Linked DNA regions of Homo sapiens: all the other regions are linked to region 1. The links are contacts of gene promoters, found by promoter capture Hi-C in blood cells and fetal thymus (Javierre and others, 2016). All regions are on one chromosome and are shown on one strand. The core of a region is centred on a gene start or on the middle of the fragment in contact, and the rest is flanking DNA. Distances in the headings are between cores, read along the strand shown.

Evidence for each region. Contacts are between HindIII fragments. The CHiCAGO score rates a contact against its expected background, and 5 or more counts as called.
Region 2: a contact is called between a fragment that was not itself captured here and the fragment with the promoter of SERGEF in region 1, in 1 of 17 cell types (M2 macrophages). The highest score is 5.1, in M2 macrophages.
Region 3: a contact is called between the fragment with the promoter of LDHAL6A here and the fragment with the promoter of SERGEF in region 1, in 4 of 17 cell types (M1 macrophages, M0 macrophages, total CD4 T cells and 1 more). The highest score is 6.3, in M1 macrophages.

Annotation. Positions count from the first base shown.
Region 1 is chr11:18,011,629-18,014,772 of GRCh38, reverse strand. SERGEF (secretion regulating guanine nucleotide exchange factor) reads left to right here and starts at 1,726. Exons shown (of 11, transcript NM_012139.4): 1 at 1,726-1,822. The coding sequence starts at 1,763. RefSeq lists enhancers at 1,009-1,058, 2,417-2,933, 2,934-3,144 and a silencer at 1,439-2,058. The HindIII fragment of the contact is 12,002 bases long and covers 1-3,144 here.
Region 2 is chr11:17,728,354-17,731,935 of GRCh38, reverse strand. No RefSeq gene overlaps it. Among named protein-coding and RNA genes, the nearest start is that of KCNC1, 4.6 kb to the left of the region's middle. The HindIII fragment of the contact is 1,642 bases long and covers 484-2,125 here.
Region 3 is chr11:18,453,509-18,457,110 of GRCh38, reverse strand. It overlaps LDHAL6A (lactate dehydrogenase A like 6A), which reads right to left and starts at 1,255. Exons shown (of 7, transcript NM_144972.5): 1 at 305-1,255. The coding sequence starts at 430. The HindIII fragment of the contact is 8,824 bases long and covers 1-3,602 here.

The DNA of each region.
Region 1 (3,144 bases), core at 477-2,976:
CTAAGACCATCCCCCAGCCAGTTTGCTCAGGTATGGGAAATACTCACATGGGAAATGGACAGTTTTTATTTTGAAAAACTGTGGGTGTGAAAGACCTCCCCAAAGCATCAGTTTGTCTTTGCTCAGCTATTAGAGCAGATATCCAGCCACAAGCCCTTGTATTTCTCAGAACGGATTGGACAGAAGCCTGTCTGGGTCCTAAATCTAGAGGGATGCATACCAAGCTCTCTCAGGGACCCAGGTAAAGTAACTTTCCTTAGACCTGAGATGGGTTGAGACCCACACCACATTGATAATTGTGGCCACATATCCTACTAGAATTCTCTCTGGCCTCTCAACCTTTTTCGTAGACTGAAAGTCATACACTGGTTTCTAGACAGTTGCTTTGCAAGACCTGCTTTGGTGGTCTTGAACCTTACTTTATGATATAGGAGTAACTGGCACTTGTTGCTCAGCCAAAACTGAGCGGTGAAGGATCCCATTTTTACATCCTGTTACACATGCTTCAAAGAAATGGTCAGCACAAAAAAGCCCACTCATAAGACAGTCAGTAAGCATGGTATAGCTCCTGCACATTCAGATCCCTAGAGAATGAAGAGCTGTTTTATCTCTCCAAAGTTTGCTTTTTTCTTGGTATGGTCATCGACGTTCTCCAGATGCCACAGGTTGGAGAGATAAAGGTGAGGGGCTGCCCTCAAGTGGTCTTACAGGCAGAAACTCCTAAAAGTGGATGGAGTGAAAGAACAGGAAAGGACAGTGTAAGAGCTCATTGGAGACACTTCCCAGAAGCCCAGGGGTGAAGGGCAGTGAGTGCTGGAGGCCCGTGTCAGCAGAGGGGCCAAGTGCTACCGAATGTGAATGTGGATGATCATCTTTAATGTGACCCTATGTGTTCTGTATTCCCGGTACGCGGTGCCATATTTTCCTTCAGATAAATTGAACTTAATTAACTCCCATCAGCAACACGACGCTGTCTGAGAAAAGCCATTTTATATGGAAATGTTCGTTGGGTGACGATTATCCAGTATTATTAATAGAATGAGCTCAGGGCCGTGCCCGGAGCGCCGAGGCTGCCCCGGCAGGAGTCGACGCTAACCAGCCTCCCCCATTCAGCGTCGCGAGGCGCGGGTTCCCGCTCCGTGCCAGGTGCAGAGGGCGACACCGGCGACGTGCCACTCCACTCGCCTCCCAAGGCGCCCCCTCAGATGTTTGCGAACGCACACCAAAGCGGGCTCAAGACAATTGCGCCTGAGACGCCGGGCAGGACCCTGCCCTACCCCTCAGGCTCCATTTCCTGTTCCCGCAAATGGTGATGCCATCGCTGCCCTGTCAGCCCCTCTGGGCTGTCGTGGGCCTCCAAGGAGACAAAAACGCGAAGGAGCTTTGTGAACTGTGGCGCGCAGTGCACCTGCATGAAACATGAAATTATGACTAAAAATAAAGAGTACGAGGGGGTAGGAGCGAGAGGCTGAGAGGCCCAGCGAGACAGGAGGCTGCGGGCGGAGACGCTGCGAGCGCCGCCGGGGCGGGCTGACTGGGAGGCGGCTCCGGGGCTGTCGTCCGGCCCCGCCCACCACTGATCCCCAGTGGCCCGAGGGCCCGGCCGCACCCTCTCTCCCGGCCTGCGGGCCGCTTCCCACCACAGACCCCGCCCCGCGCCCTACCCATCACGCGTCCCCGGTCCGGCTCCGGCGCTCACCTACCCCCGGCAGGCGCCGCCCCCGTGCCGTCCCTCCCGGAAGCGCCGGCGGAGCGTCCTCGCATGGAGCGCGAGCCCAGCGCCTCGGAGGCCGCCCCCGCGGCGGCCGCGCTCTTCGCCTGGGTACGTGACTCCGCCCCCGGGCCGGTGCAGGCCCTGAGGGGCGCCGAGATGTGGGAGCTGCTGGCCGCGGCGTGGGCAGTTCAGGGGCTGGGCGGCTGAGGTCCGAGCCGGGCTCTGGGTTGAAGGATCCTGGGCTGGGAGCGGAGGGGGAGCGGAGGAGGAGCGGGCGGGCGGGGAAGGAAGGGTCTTCGCGGTCGACTTAGGGGCCTGCCGGCTGGCGGGGTCAGGGCCGGAGGGGCTGTGGCGCCGCGGGAAGAACCTGCCTCGGGGCAGAGCGTCTGGTTCCGCGAGAGCCCTCCAGCCCGAATAGCGCCTGGAAGACAGCGCGGAGGGCTCGGTGGAGAGGATCGCCCGGTCCCAGAGCTCCGTGGGGCCACCTGTGCCCCCCACACTCCTGATGCCTGGAGGAGGGAGACCCTGTCCCAGCCTGGCGAAAGCATCCTTTAGATGTGAGGCCTGCGGTGTTTGGCCGCGCACAAGGCACAGACCCTGCCTATTTGCTGACACTCTGCTGTGACCGGTTCTTGCATGTGTTGGGGGAGTTGGGCTGCTGTTGGTTTGACGGGAGCATTGGGAGAGACAGGGTCATCTTGATGTGTGTCTGGGAGAGAGGAGGGTTCATGCACAGGAGCGTGGCAGGTGGCCGACCAGCATGCACGGGAACAAGCAGTCGCTGCGTCTTGTGCTTCTTCATAGCACGTATCACAATTGTAATGATGTGTATAATTTATTATTAACGTCAGTCTCTCTGGCTGGAAAGTAAGTGTGGTAAGAGTGGGTGCTGTGCCTGTCTTGTTCACGGTGCCTCTCTTGGTGTCTGGCACATTGTAGGTCCCCAGTAAATACTCGTTGACGAATGAATGAACGAGCATCTGTGTGCCTACCCATGTGCTGGTGTTGGGGAAATACACATGAGTGAAATACACGAGTGAAGGACTTCCAGCTCTTGTGTTGGGGGAGAGCAAAATTATAACCTGTATTGCTGTTAAAATCAGTATTAGTTGTCCAATTTTTAAAGAAGTAATGATCAGTACAAGGCGGCAATTGTTGAATGTGGGGCTGCAATTTGGCAGGAGGGAGAGCATGGCGTGACCTGCGGTAGTCTGGCTGGCTGGGCGTCTTTGAGGTGGCCCGGGAGCTGGGGGTGGAGTTGGGGATTGAATGTGTGCTGTCTCTGGCTTTTTCCAGGCAGGAGACTGGCGTCTGTGTGGACAGAGGAAACAGAAATATTGTTTCAGTACAGACAAAGCCGAATATTAAAGGTTGTAAAATATGTTTAATAGGTTGTTGACACCCTTCTGCTGTGTTTGGAGGACTGGTAG
Region 2 (3,582 bases), core at 55-2,554, 280 kb after region 1:
CAGAAAACAGAGAAACAGAGGGTTTTGGGGGGAAATAGGAGGAAGAATGACTAACCATTCCCTAGCTTCTCACTCGCAAACACTAACGACAGACCCCCAGCTAGACTGAAAACCTCACTCCTTTTCCACTTTGGAGCAGCACCTCCTATTCGCAGCCATTTGCCCCTCCCTTGCAGAAGAAAGCTTGTGGTCTGGTGCCAGAGGGTCTTTGGTAGCTGGGGCTGGTGGGGGTGGGAGCAGTTGTGGTGTGGTATGTTCAGTGGCTAAGAGCACAGACTTTAAAACCAGACTGCCTGGATTCAAATCCCAGCTCCAGTACTGACTAGCTGTGACCTTGGGCAAGTTACTCAACTTCTCTGTGCCTCGTTTTTTGCTTTTACTGTTGTATTGAAATAATAATAATAACTCCTGTATCCTTAACATCTAAGTTCTAGAATTTCTCTTGTTTAGGCCCAAGGAGGGATTGCTGGGCTTCAGTAAGCTTCATGTAGGAAAGGCTAGAATATAAGCTGGTGTTGGGAGTGGACTAAAAAAAAGGTGAAGGGAGTTCTGAAGCCAAGTTTGGCCTATGTTTTCCCACCTGGCACTTGCAGGCCTTAGATCTGGTCCTGCTAAGCTCTGGAACTGGCCCAAGTCCAGCCCCTAGGCTTTTGTCCAGGTTGGCACATCCTCCATGCTGCTCTCCCAGGCCCAGAGCCTCAGCCCTCCTGGTGGGCTGGGGTGCCATCTTGTGGCCATGGCTGGGAACTAACCTAAGCTGGGTATTGACCGAGAAGGCTTTGAGGATAGTAACCCTGCTCTGATGGTAAGCCGTGGGGGTGGCAGACATCCCCTCCCTAGACCATACCGCCTGCCTCCAATGGTCAGGGAAGATTGAATCCAGAGATGCCGTAGTGGGAAATTGGCGACCTTGGCCACAGATCTGTAGGTTGAGCAGTGACCCTGGTAACCTGGGCTGAGCTGCAGCGAGGTATACAGCTAGCTGTTCCTTCTTGGAAACTCTGGGGCAGGGGCACCAACATGGCTTAGGCCATGGGAAGTCCAGAAAGGGGCCAAGGTGAAGAATACTCTTGGAAGGTGTCTAGACCAGGGTTTCTCAACTTCTGCACTGTTGACATCTTGGCTCAGATGTAATCCTTTGCCAGGGTTGGGGCCGGGTGCTGTACTGTGCATTGCAGGATATTTAGCAGGCCTCTGTCCACTAGGTGTCGGTAGAAGCCTCTTCCCTAGCAGTGATCACCAAAAAGGTCTACAGACACTGCCAAATGTACCCTGGGAGGTAAAATTTCTTCCGGTTGAGAGAACCACTGATGTAGACAGACTTGGTTACAAATCCCATTTTTGCTATTCACTAGCTGCGTCAACTAGTCCCATTCCCTCTCTAGGCTTCTATTTCCTCATTATCCATAAAGGGACCAATGTCTGGTAAGGATTAAATGACATGGTACCTCATTTCCTCTTCTTCCCTTTTCTCCCTTCCCTCGGGCTCCCTAGCCCACTTCTCATCCCTCTGTGACCAGCCCTTACACCCCCTCCCCCTCATGGACTCCTACCATCCTTCAGCAATGTCCCTTAGGGTGTCAGTGTGGCCCTGGGGACAGAGCATTAGCCCTCCCTGGGCCTGGATGCCTCTCCCTGCAGGCTGTGGGAGGGAGGTGCGGAAGTGTGAGATGAGATGATGGCTGTGGTGAACATGGTCAGGTGTGCATATATGTAAGGAGGCTGGGTGGGTACAGGCCCTCCTGCAAGCATGTTCACAGCAGGACTGTGCAGAGGACACTGAGTTCTCCTCCCAGAAGCAGCTGGAGACTCGTGGCTACCCTAAAGGTCTTCCCTCTGCGGCTCCTCTGATAGGGAGAGCCTGGCAAGTTCTCTTGTATGTACACCTGTGGATGTGTCAGCCTGCAGGTGAGCATGGTCAGTATGCAGAGGTGGGTCCAGGGTGTGTAGGGCCTGAAGCCTGGAAGTTTTGGGGGTCACTCTTTTAAAAAAAGAAAGCAAAAAAGAATACAAAGTTGGATACAAAAGTGAATATTTATTTAGACTTAGAAAAGGACTCAAGACCAAATATAAATTTTAAGAAGCTGACATATACTACAAATATTTAAAAATACAGAAAAAAGCTTCATATTTTTATTAACTGCACGGCACACCTATATAATGATTTAAAATAAGTTACATTTATTTGGAAGCATTCAGTATGCCAACAAAAACAGATGCAACTTTTTTTGCAATTACAGAATAATATTTAGTTAATACATTTATTTTACATAAGCTACATCGAAGATGACTGGAAATTAAAAAATCATCACCTTCCCTCCAATATAACTATTTTTTTCTGTGTACTAACAAGACCCTGCTTTACATTTCTATGCCAATTTATAGGTCCCGGGTAGTACCAGGCACAGTTAGTAGCTACTGAAAACACCTCCTGGACAGGACTACTTAAAGATACATTATGAAATGCAAGGGACCCAGAAAACTCACAACAGTATTGAAGAAGGAGAGTAAAGCTGGAGGACTCACGCTTCCCAATTTCAAAACTAACTACCACACTACAATAATCAAGACTGTGTGGTATTGGCATAAGGATAGATAGATAGATCAATGGAATAGAATTGAGAGTACAGAAATAAACTCATATATTTATGGTCAATTAATTTTTGACAAGAGTGCCAAGACAATTCAATGGAGAAAGAATCGTCATTTCAATAAATGATGCTGAAACAACTATATATTCATACGCAAAAGAATGAATTTGGATCCCATACTTACACCATATTAAAAATTTTAAATGGACCAAATTCCTAAATGTTAGGGCCAAAGTCATATAACTCTTAGAAGAACTTGAAGTAAGTAATCGTTTCTTAGATGTGATGTCAAAACCATAAGCAAAAAAAAAAAAAAAAAAAAGGAACAGGTAGATAACTTGGATCTTGGATCTCATCAAAATAAAATAGACATTTGTGCTTCAAAGGAAGTGAAAAGAATTCGCAGAATGGGAGATATAATTGCAAATCCTATATCTGATAAGAGTCTGATATCTAGATTAGATAAAGAACTCTCATAACTCAATGTATTAGTCCATTCTCACACTGCTATGAAGAAATACCCAAGACTGGGTAATTTATAAAGGAAAGAGGTTTAATTGACTCACTGTTCCACATTGCTGAGGAGGCCTCAGGAAACTTACAATCATGGCAGAAGGCAAAGGAGAAGCAGGCACCTTCTTCACAGGGTGGCAGGATGTAGTGAATGGAAGCAGGGGAAACATCAGACACTTATAAAACCATCAGATCTCATTGAGAACTCACTATCATGAGAAGAGCATGGGGGAAACCACTCCCAGTGATCCAACTGCCTCCACCTGGTCCTGCCCTTGACACATGGGGATTATGGGGATTACAATTCTAGGTGAGATCTGGGTGGGGACACAGAGCCAAACCATACCACTCAACAACAAAAAGACAACCTAATTTTAAAATGGGCAAAGAATTTGAATGGACATTTCTCCAAAGAAAACATACAAATACTCAATACGCACATGAAAACATGCTCAACATGTGATTAGAGAAATGCAAC
Region 3 (3,602 bases), core at 6-2,505, 440 kb before region 1:
TCCAGTTTGTTTTGTGAGCTGAGTTTCCAAATCAAGCAAAGGGGTACCTCATATTGTCATTACGTGAAAGTGAAATGTCAACATACTTTCACAGAGATGCTTCTAACCCACATGATATCATCATACAATTTTTAAAAAGGAGCGCCCTCTGGGTGAACAACTAAAAAAAGGGCACCTTTTCCTCTGATGCCCCTCACACTGGCTCCCCACTCACCACCTTGAACTGGACACAACCTCCACAACCATACGCTGTGGCCTCGCCTCCAACTGAGGTGAACCCTGTGGTGCAGAGCACACAACTTACTTTTAATAAGATGCTGATAGCACAAGCCACACCAACCGATCCAGTTCCTACAATGGAGATCTTATTGTGATGAATGGCCTCCTCTTCCGCGAAATTCTTAATAAGTTCACTCTTGATAGTTGCCATCTTGGAAACCTAACAGTGAAGACAAATTGCACAGCCATTTCCAAGACCTGGAATTGGAAATGGCTTGGAATTCCAAGACCTGCGGTGAGAGCGCGTATAGAGAACTCCTGGGCCCGTGTGGAAGGAGGTGCTGCAGACACACAAAAGACCGACAAATCTGACCAGCAAAGAAGCTGGGTAGGTTCTGGCCAGGCAGCTCAGCATCCATGAAGCGGACCAGGGGAAGGAGAAGGAAGCGTGAGTACAGTTAAGAGGAATTAAGAGAGAGAGAGAGGAAAGGAACAGGGGTTGCTCCACCAAACATGAAACTACAGCTGGGACGGCACTCCGTCCCGCAGCTGACCCCCTTTTCTCTCCCCTTTACCCTGCTGTTCCCCCAACCTCCAGTTCTCAGCTCCAGGACTGCGCCCGGGGTCCGCAGGTCCAGGTGAGAGGTACTTCTGGCCACACTCACAGGGGTGAAGGGCCACCCGCGCCCGAGCAGGTCACATGCCGCCTGGCGGAGACACAGAACCATCCTTGGGCAAAAACAATTCGCTCCCGCGGCGCCCGCTCTCTGGCTGCTCCCCAGGACTCTTGCAGCCCAGCTCATGGCCACTCACTCAAGAGGTGAAGAAAGAGAATGGAGGAAAATGGCGTTAAAGCTCATCGAGGCACGAAGGAGATGAACCGCCGACTAACAGACGCCGGGTCGCCCCCTTACTGCAGCTGCGCGGACCGCACCCAGCTCGTGCAGGCATCGCAGGTGTGATGCTTGGCAGGTGTGATGCTTGGCAGGTGTGATGCTTGGCAGGTGTGATGCTTGGCAGGTGTGAGGCCGGAAGCGGGCTGCGAAGCACCGCGCCTGCGCCTCTGCCTGCCCGCCCCGCCCCCGCGTGCGGGTGGGCGGGCTGCGGTGTAGGTGGTTGGCCGGCTGCAGAAGGCGCACGAGGTGCTGCAGGCACAACGCAGTGCAGGGCCTCTGCTGTTGGGCGGAGTTGTTTGCCTAGAACCCATCCACCAGAGAGCCCAAGTAATTTTATTTCTAACCAAACCTTGTCTGGATGTATCTGAAAAGGACTGTTTGACTCTCACGTGAAAATTTTCCCCCAGCCCTGTAGGAGAAAGGGACCTCAAGATTAACTTTTACCACCTCAAATGTGAGCTAAAGTAGAAAAAGTAAAATTTTAAAACTCTGGGCCGAGCGTGGTGGCTCACGCCTGTAATCCCAGCACTCTGGAAGGCCAAGGCGGGCGGATCACCTGAGGTCAGGGGTTCGAAATCAGCCTGGCCAACATCGTGAAACCACGTTTCTACTAAAAATACAAAAATTAGCTGGACGTGGTGGTGCACCCCTGTAATCCCAGCTACCTGGGAGGCTGAAGCACAAGAATTGTTTGTGAACCTGGGAGGCGGAGGTTGCAGTAAGCCGAAATTGTGCCACTGCACTCCAGCCTGGGTGACGGAGTGAGACCCTGTCTCAAAACAACAACAAAACTCTGTATGCAAAAGGAATTTGGAAATAAGATATGAAACCTGAAGAATTTGATGAATGCAGTGCCAATTGATAACCATTTTTACAAGATGAAGGGAAAGCTCAATTCATTATTAAGTGGTTAAATGTAGAATCCACACTTTGGGAGGCCGAGGCGGGTGGATTAGCTGAGGTCAGGAGTTCGAGACCAGCCTGGCCAACATGGCGAAACCCCGTCTCTACTAAAAATACAAAAATTAGCCGGGTGTGGTGGCACGCACCTGTAATCCCAGCTACTCAGGAGGCTGGGGCAGGAGAATCGTTTGAACCCGGGAGGCGGAGGTTTTGGTGAGCCGAGATCATGCCACTGCCCTCCAGCCTGGGTGACAGAGTGAGACTCCGTCTCAAAAATAAAAAACAAAAATGTAGAATTGAAAATCAGTCTGGAATAAACCAAGGTTTCTACTTCTCCCACCACATTTTACCTAATTGTTTTCTCATTTGTGAATCATAATACGTAATTTTGATGGTTAATACTGAGTGTCAACTTGATTGGATTGAAGGATGCAAAGTGTTGAACCTGGGTGTGTCTGTGAGGGTGTTGCCACAGGAAATTAACATTTGAGTCAGTAGGCTAGAAGACGCAAACCCACCCTCTATCCGGGTGAGCACCATCTAGTCAGCTGCCAGCACGTCTAGGATAAAAGCAGGCAGAGGAACGTGGAGGGACTAGACTGGCTAAGTCTTCCAGCCTTCATCTTTCTCCTGTGCTGGATGCTTCCTGCCCTCAAACATTGGACTCCTAGTTCTTCAGCTTTGGAACTCCGACTGACTTTCTTGCTTCTCAGCTTGCAGACGGCCTATTGTTGTGGGACCTCACCTTGTGATTGTGTGAGTCAATACTCCTCAATAAACTCCCCTTTATATATATAGCTATCCTATTCGTTCTGTCCCTCTAGAGAACCCTAATACAGTAATACATATTGACAAATTTTTATAAAATGTAGAGCAGTGTTTCTCAATCTTTTTTCATTATCACTCCCTCAAGAGTCTTTGTAGATATGTTCCCCCTAATTGTTTTGCACCCCCATCATGAAATTAAATATTAAGGAGTTGGCCGGGCGCGGTGGCTCACGGCTGTAACCCTAGCACTTTGGGAGGCCGAGGCGGGCGGATTGCCTGATCTTAGGAGTTCGAGACCAGCCTGGGCAAAACGGTGAAAGCCCGTCTCTACTAATATAAAAGAAATTAGCCAGGCGTCAGCTACTCGGGAGGCTGAGGCAGGAGAATGGCGCGAACCGGGGAGGCGGAGCTTGCAGTGAGCCGAGATCGTGCCACTGCACTCCAGCCTGGGCCACAGAGCGAGACTCCGTCTCAAAAAAAAAAAAAAAAAAAGGAAAGGAATTAGCCGGGCGTGGTAGCAGGCACCTGTAGTCCCAGCTACTCAGGAGGCTGAGGCAGGAGAATTGCTTGAACCTGGGAGGTGGAGGTTGCAGTGAGTGGAGCTTGCGCCACCGCACTGCAGCCTGGGTGACAGAGCAAGACTCCATCTCTTAAAAAAAAAAAAAAAAAAAAAAAACCTATATATATATATATATATATATATATATATATATATATATACACACACATACACATATACATATACGTTTATTTGTCAGGCAAGGTTGAGCTCTGGAGAGCCAAACTCTTGTAATATCTAAGTTTTTTTTTACCTTT